Linked DNA regions of Homo sapiens: region 1 is linked to region 2. The links are contacts of gene promoters, found by promoter capture Hi-C in blood cells and fetal thymus (Javierre and others, 2016). All regions are on one chromosome and are shown on one strand. Each heading gives the region's core, a stretch centred on a gene start or on the middle of the fragment in contact. The rest is flanking DNA. Distances are from core to core; before and after follow the strand shown.

What was found. The method cuts DNA at HindIII sites, captures the fragments that hold promoters and counts their contacts. A CHiCAGO score of 5 or more calls a contact.
Region 1: a contact is called between a fragment that was not itself captured here and the fragment with the promoter of ACSL3-AS1 in region 2, in 1 of 17 cell types (neutrophils). The highest score is 5.5, in neutrophils.

The regions. Positions count from the first base shown.
Region 1 is chr2:222,828,960-222,833,010 of GRCh38, reverse strand. No RefSeq gene overlaps it. Among named protein-coding and RNA genes, the nearest start is that of ACSL3, 30 kb to the left of the region's middle. The HindIII fragment of the contact is 3,418 bases long and covers 521-3,938 here.
Region 2 is chr2:222,917,799-222,922,017 of GRCh38, reverse strand. ACSL3-AS1 (ACSL3 antisense RNA 1) reads left to right here and starts at 2,417. Exons shown (of 3, transcript XR_923949.3): 1 at 2,417-2,479; 2 at 2,659-2,788. ACSL3 (acyl-CoA synthetase long chain family member 3) reads right to left here. Exons shown (of 17, transcript NM_004457.5): 6 at 3,863-3,972; 7 at 2,816-2,954; 8 at 588-738. The HindIII fragment of the contact is 9,982 bases long and covers 1-4,219 here.

The DNA.
Region 1 (4,051 bases), core at 980-3,479, 89 kb after region 2:
GGTCACATCCTGAGGTACAAGGGATTATGACTCCAACATATCTTTTGTGGAGGGGAGGCAGAACACAGCCCACCCCTAACAGTCAGTGACTTTTTATTTTCTTTTTTGAGACAGAGTCTCGCTCTGTTGCCCAGGCAGGAGTGCAGTCGTGTGATCTTGGCTCACTGCAACCTCTGCCTCCCGAGTTCAAGCAATTCTCCTGCCTCAGCCTCCTGAGTACCTGAGACTACAGGCAAGCACCACCGTGCCGAATTTTTTGTATTTTTTTAGTAGAGACGGGGTTTCACCATGTTGGCCAGGGTGGTCTTGAACTCCTGACCTCAGGTGATCCGCCTGCCTCGGCCTCCCAAAGTGCTGGGATTACAAGTGTGAGCCACCACGTCCGGCCCCAAACTCTGACTTAACATTGAGTTGTTCATACCCTCAGGTGGGCTTGCATCCCTGACTTCACATCAATTCATAAAGTCTGAATGGTCCTAGAATGTACTCTAAATTCAGGGGAAAAAAGAACATATAAGCTTTTAGCTGGAAGCCTGCTGAGTATTCCTTAAGCTACTTTAAAATTCTGCCACACACTCTAGGATATCTGTTATTACAATCTTTTCGAATTCTGAAGAACTCTGAAGAACTTTTGTTCACAGCACCTGTGGGTCTGCTTAACTCTTAGCATTGGTTCAAATGGAATGTCCTCTTTATTTTCAAATTGCTTCAAGGTTTATTTTTGAAATCAAGTTTTCATTTCCTACAGATTTCACAAAGTTTGGTGCATCTGGAAAAGAATGCTTAGGGCATCGGAAATGTGTTTTGGAACATAGACGTTAATTTACAAATAAAAGGGTTGATGTCTGAACATCAGACATCATTTAAAAAAAGGGCTTTTCTTAAGAAAATAGGACTATTGGCTGGGCGCCGTGGCTCACGCCTGTAATCCCAGCACTTTGGGAGGCCAAAGCAGGTGGATCACCTGAGGTCAGGAGTTTGAGACCAGCCTGGCCAACATGGAGAAACCCCATCTCTACTAAAAATACAAAATTGGCCAGGTGTGGTGGCGCGTGCCTGTAATCCCAGCTACTTGGGAGGCTGAGGCAGGAGAATATCTTGAACCCGAGATGTGGAGGTTGCAGTGAGCTGAGATCATACCATTGCACTCCAGCCTGGGCAACAAGAACAAAACTCTGTCTCAAAAAAAAAAAAAAAAAAAGAAAAAAGGACTATCTGGTACCAGAATTTTTACAAGTTTTTCTGTTTGTTTTTTGAGACGATGCTAGATCTCTGATTTTTAACCTGAAGATCTCTAGGCAGAGATTAGGGTGAGGATTTAGTGATTGGTAGAGACTTAGGAGTGGAAGAGTGTAGACTTCCAGGTGCCACGCTTCCCAGATTCCTACTCCCTCCTTCGGGGATGAAGGATTTATTTCCTCAGCTGCTGGGAATGTTGGAAGCCAACAGCTCTCAGCTGTCAGCCCTCTTTAGGAATTACCTGGACTGAGTCAACCCGCCACACCCAAGGTCACCATCTCTTTCCAGAGCAGCCTGCATCCAACGACTGGTCTGTCAGGAGCTCATCAAGGCCGAGCATTGGGACAACTCTGAAGAGCCATCCAGCTTCAGGGCTCTCTGTGAAATGGGGCCTTTTGCACCTGTGTGGCAGCCCATCTGATATGGTTTGGGATCTGTGTTTTTAACATGCTATACGGGGTTGTAGCCTAGCAGCAATAGGTTACACCATATATCCTGTGCACAGGTGCACAGTAGGCTATAACACTAAGGTCTGTGTAAGTACATGCTATGATGTTTGCACAACTATAAAATCACCTAATGATGCCTTTCTCAGAGCTTATCCCTACCATTAAATGATGCATGATTATCTCTCTGTGTGTGTGTGTGTGTGTGTGTGTGTGTGTGTGTGTGTGTGTGTGTATCTACAAAAACCCTAAAAGGTACCCAATGGCAATAACCCAAACTAAAGAATGAAGAGGAAGAGTGGTCTAGGGAAAACTTAAGGGTTAGGATCTAAAAGAAAAAGCCATGGCCAGACGTGGTGGCTCATGCCTATAATCCCAGCACTTCGGGAGATCGAGGCAGGTGGATCACCTGAGGTCAGGAGTTCGAGACCAGCCTGGCCAGCATGGCGAAACCTCGTCTCTACTGAAAATGCAAAAATTAGTTAGACATGGTGGCGAGTGCCTGTAATCCCAGCTACTCAGGAGGCTAAGGTGGGAGGATCACTCAAACCTGCGAGGTGGAGGTTGCAGTGAGCAAAGATCTCCAGCCTGGGTGACAGGGCAAGACTCCACCTCAAAAAAAAAGAAAAAGAAAAAGCCTATTGTCTAAAATGGGGAAAGGATAGCAGTAAGTGCCAGAAAATACTCTTTAACAGTTTGAAGTCAGGATAAGCCAACAGAGGAACTTGACACTGTATTCATAACTCAGCTCAAGTAAGATCTTGACGTTTGCTCACAGTTATAAGAGACTGTTTTAAACTTGAACTAGTTGCTTGATTCTAGTGAACAGCGCAAATTAAGAATGAAGCTGGATAATAAGCCCAGGCTGTGAGAAAAGGCGAGGATTCACAGGCATGGTTTTGAGGAAGAAGGGGCTTTATTTTTACCCTAGGTGATGACAGCTAGACCTAAACAAGGGCAATGACAAGGAGGAAGACTGCTGTGTGTGCTGAGATAGGCTGGGATGGGAGTGTCTATCTCAAGGGAGCAGTCTGCTCCACCTGGATAGATTCTTTTTTTCTTTTCTTTTTTATTAATTTCCAAATAGGTACATATCCCATCTTCTTTTGCCATTGACTTAGTTTGGGTCTCTGCAAAAGCAGAGCCAGGATTTGAGTGCAGATAATTTATTTATTTATTTATTTTTTAAGACAGGGTCTCATTCTGTTGCCCAGGCTGGAGTGCAGAGGTGCGATCTTGGCTCGCTGCAGCCTCGACCTCCCCAGGGTCAGATGATCTTCCCACCTCAGCCTCCCGAGCAGCTGGGACTACAGGCGCATGCACCATGCCCAGCTAATGTTTGTACTTTTTTGTAGAGATGGGGTTTTGCCATGTTGCCCAGACTGGTCTTGAACTCCTGGGGTCAAGCCATCCAGCAGCCTTGGCCTCTCAATTGCAGGTATAGTTTAATCGGTGGTGATCCCAGGTAGCAGGAGTGAGAGAGAAGTCAGAGATAAGAAAGGAGGAAGCCTGGGTGCGGTGGCTCACACCTGTAATCCCAGCACTTCGGGAGGCCAAGGCGGGCGGATCACCTGAGGTCAGAAGGAGTTCGAGACCAGCCTGGCCAACATGGTGAAACCCCATCTCTACTAAAAATACACAATTAGCTGGGCGTGGTGACACACGCCTGCAGTCCCAGCTACTCGGGAGGCTGAGAAAGGAGAATCACTTGAACCCGGGAAGGGGAGGCTGCAGTGAGCTGAGATCACGCAACTACACTCCATCCTGGGCAAGACAGAGCAAGATTCCATCTCAAAAAAACAAAAAAACAAAACAAACAAACAAACAAACAAACCACTTCCTTTTTCCTCTGTGGAGTTCTGAAGCAACTGAGACATAAGACACAGGGAGTTGACAGATGGAGGGAAAGTGGCAGTTGATGGGAGAACATGAATTTACACCTGTAGCCAAAGGCAGGGCTGGCTAACATTCCAGCCCATCTCACGCAGTGTGAACTGTAGGACAGAGCACCTTGGCAGGTGCACCTATCTGGAATCACTGCCTTGCACTGGTCTGGTAGAGAGGAAAGAGAATGAATCTCTGATGAATGCAGCCTTGCAGCTTTTAAGTAAATTAATTTTACACAATCAAGGAACATGCACCACTAGGTGTGGAATCCTCACTATCACCATTAAGTAACTCACTTCTAAGATAAATGCATTATTCTAATGGAAGTTCCTCCAGGTGGAACAATGGGAAAAGGCAAAAGAAGCTTTCCCCAAAATTGTGAAAACAAAATGAAACAGCAGAAGGAATGCACACTAAAGTTCCTCCGGCAGTTTTTACTGTTGTTAATATTCCATTTGACATTCAACTACATTTGTACA
Region 2 (4,219 bases), core at 1,168-3,667:
CGTGAGTGTGTGTGTGCGTGTATGTTTGTAATTTCTGTGCATAAAAGCATCAAAAATATCCAACCACTGTACCCTATCGGTCATCAGAATACCAATTGCATCTCTGGCAATGTTTCCTTGACAGTCCCTCAAACTTCCATCTGGTTTCCTCCATCAGTCTCTTCCCCACTCCACTCTACCTTCCACTGCTACCACTGGAGTTTGTATTAACAAGAAAAATCAGAGACCAAATACTGAAGCTCAACAAATACTTAGTGGATAAATTAAGTTACCTGTTCACCTGAATTGTATTTAGATATAAAAAAAACTACAGCAGCAAATACAAGCTGATTAAAACAAAGGATTTACAACTATACAAATTTAAGTTCTGTACTTTTTAAAATATATCTATATGATATATTTTCAACCTCACAACTATAACTATTTTGCCATTAATTTTAATGTCCTTTTTTATTTTTTAAGGAAATGCCTACTACAAACAGACTCTGAGGGACTAATTTAGCCATATATTAATAAAATGACACAAATGCTAACATTATAACAGACATAAATACTTAACTACTCAATGTTACTTTACTATGACATACCCTAGTTCTGGAATCCTTTCTGCCATCCCAGTTATACCAGCAATAATGTTACTATGTGAGATCATGACTCCCTTTGGAAGTCCTGTGGATCCACTTGTGTACATGATTACTGCAATATCTGAGGGCAATGGTTTGCTATGAGGTTGGTTTTCTGCATTGAAGAGAAAAAACACACACATACACTTTCATGAGATTCAGCTGTATCAACAATTTCTTTTCATTATCATCAAATAAATAACTCAATCAAATTGAGTTAATTTAACTCAATTCAACAAATATTAGTTATACTGAGATCAACAAAACAGATCAAGTCCCTGCACGTATGGGAGATATATTCTATTGAGATATACAAACAGATTAACCTATGAAGAAAACTGAAGCAAGACAAGGTGAGAAGATGACAATAGATGCTATTTGGATGGAAAAGCCTGGAGACCGTCTCTGTAGAGTTTCGTTTAGCAAAGGCCTGAATAAAGTGAGGAAGGGAGCCATGGAAACCCTGGAACTGGGAGAAGAGTGTTCTAATTAGAAGGAAATAAGCAAATGCAAAGACCCAAAGGTAGGAATGTGCTCAGCATATCTAAAGACCAGCAAGGAGTGTGGCTGGAACAGAGTGAGCAAGAGGAAGAGTGGCAAGAAACAATAGTCAAGTGGCTATCAGGGACCACACATAGGACCTCAAAGGCCACGGGAAGAACTCTGGATTACGTTCTGGATGTAAAGCAATGTTGTTTTGAACAGGAGTATGTTATTATCTGTGAAAAAAAAGATCACTTTGGCTGCTGTGTGGCTAACTAACTTTACAAGGGGAAAAAAGGTATCAGGGAGACAAGATTATCCCAGTAATTCAACTAAGAAATAAAGGTAGCTTTGGACTAGAGTATCTAGGTGTTTGCTAAAAACTATTCACTGCTTCAGAATGGTGACTAACTTGGTTACACTCAGAGTCCTGCATTAAAACACGATGTGAACCATTTGAAATCAGAAGAGTACCAGCCTAAGGACAACAGCTGAGAAGCTATAGAGGTGGCACAGCAGAAGAACAAAGAGAAATAGGTCATGGTTGGCATTGCTGATATGTCTGAACCACTCCCAGAACTACTCTACATGTGAACTTCTAAATGAGTGTGAAAAAATTATTTAAATGTACTCCCAATAGAATACCCTTCCTCTCCTGTCAGTCAAGATACATTTCTTAAATAATGTTTACACTTGGAAGTCTTTACTTCCAAATCAGCCCTTCACTCCTTCAATGCACAGCACCCTTCTCCAACACCACCACTTCTTGGAAATTACAATCCTTGTGTCATCTGACCTCTGCATGCAGCCCCTGATCCTGCTGATGACTCACCAAGATCTCCTTTCCCTTGGCTTCCAGGAACCACATACTACTAGATATTTTCTTCTTTCCTCTCTGACTAGTCCTTAGTAGCCTCTGAAGCCACCATTCCCTGTTGGTGACCTCACCCCCTACTCCCACAGCTATAATTAAAACCTAACTGCTTCTAGCTTCCAAATCTCTAAGTCCAAACATAACTCGAGTACTAGACTTTTACACACCACTGTCCACAATATATCTGCATCTAAATATCCCACTACCACTCAAATTCCAGGTGCCTAAAATTTGAGTTGAGTGAATGCTTACATCTAATTACTAGGTTTCCAACTACAGAGGAAATGCAGTCCCAGCATCCCAGCAGCTTTTGCAGTATCTCTAAACACTAGTACACTAGCTAACATTTTCTGACGCTTTTTTGAGAATAGGAACTTGTAGAGTCACCATGCCTAGGTGTGCTAGTTGGAGGGTAAGGTTTTCACCTCAGGAAAGGGAAGAACTGGAACAGGGAGTAAAAGGAGGCCTCCAGGTTTAGCCACTCTGTTAACACTTACAGGTAATTCACATAGGACAAGATAAATGTCATTATTTATAAACTAACTTTAAACCACCCAAAACTATCACCATAAAAAAGAAATGAAAACTGAATGTAAAATATTTTAAATTTCAAATAAATACTACCTTTAAAACATTAATAATTAATGTTTATATTTTTCCTTAAAACTTTCTTTAAAGACAAGATGAAAGTATACCTAGAGGGACCTGTTTTCCTAACTGATGTTAGAAAACTGATGTGTCATTTGAGCTAACCTCAGAATCAAAACTTTGGCATAATTCTGGAGAATGTGGTCACCAGAAAGCACAGGTAAGGAATTAGAAAAGTGTAACATACCCATGCTGGCCTTGGCTCCCAGGGCCTCCACTGCAGCCATGGTATGCACAATGATGCCCTTGGGGAACTCGGACCAGGTCGGTGGCTTTCCATCAACAGTGATGATGTGCCGCAGGCGTGGGACCAAAGAAACTATATCCTAGAAATACACCAACATTCATCACGTTCATTATTTTTCAAGCAGCTTAGCGAATAAGAATACTAGTTTACCATATTCGGTGAATCATTAAGTAATTTCTTGCCTCAAAAAAGAAAGAAGAAAGGGTACACTGGCATAATATCACTTTTTACAGATGATTAAGTATTGGTCTGAATTTAAATTATTATTTTATAGCATTAGATTCACTGTGTGTACCCTTGGCCTTTGGTAAAACCCTGATCAAGAAGGGTACTGCCTTATAAAACGGGCATGTAAACACAGGTTGCCTAAACTGTAGAGAAACCAGAAGCCCCTCATATTTTCAAGAGACTACATAAAAATATATGGGGGAAGGAGGAGAAAATTCACATGCAAACTTGTTCAAAATTTTCTTTTTGAACAAGTTTACATGTGAATTTTCTCCTCCTTCCCCCATATAGAATAGCCCAGATATTTCTGGGAGTTGTCTAGAGACCAAAGAAACTCTTTTTACTGTAATATAATTAAAAGTCTCCCTTTTTAACTTCCAAACAATTCTGAAAACTTGTAATTACTTAATGCTTCAGAAGTAAAATAAAAATTACTAGTTTAAAATATAACCCTTCAAAATTACAAATTTACTAAAAGTAAACTAGAAAATAGATGAGCACAATAAGAGAAAAAGTAGTCGTAATTTCTTCAATTTAAACATAGGCATCTTAACAATTTATAACTCTGGATTACTTATACATGAATATATACAAAATCTACTTTTTATTTTCTAAAGGAAAAAATAAAGTATGATATTCATAAAAGTCCACAAAGATTAAGGACTTAAAAGTCATAAAAGAACTAAGTATCAATAATAGGGCTCATGACACTGAAAATTCTAAAGTATCAGACAGTTAGAAAGTAACTAGAGTCCTCACCTTCAACTTTGTTTGTAAGAGTTCTTTACTAGTAATGATGTTGGTCACCTCTGTTTCATTTAATGCATGAACAATGGCTGGACCTCCTAGAGTGGCATATAATGTAACAACTAAAAGGAAAAGCAGCAGCCAGTCAAATATTCAAACATTTAACTACAAATGTAAAGTCTCTGAATGTGGAGATGAATCATAATAACGCATTAGGAGCCCTAAACTGTTAAATCCACAGTCTATAAGTGTTATGTTTTTTAAAGTTATCTTATCATACTAATCAACATTACACCTACTCATCCTCCCCTAAATGCCCCAAGATTTCCAATTTTTAAAGATGAAGATATTTAAATTTTTATTTTGTTT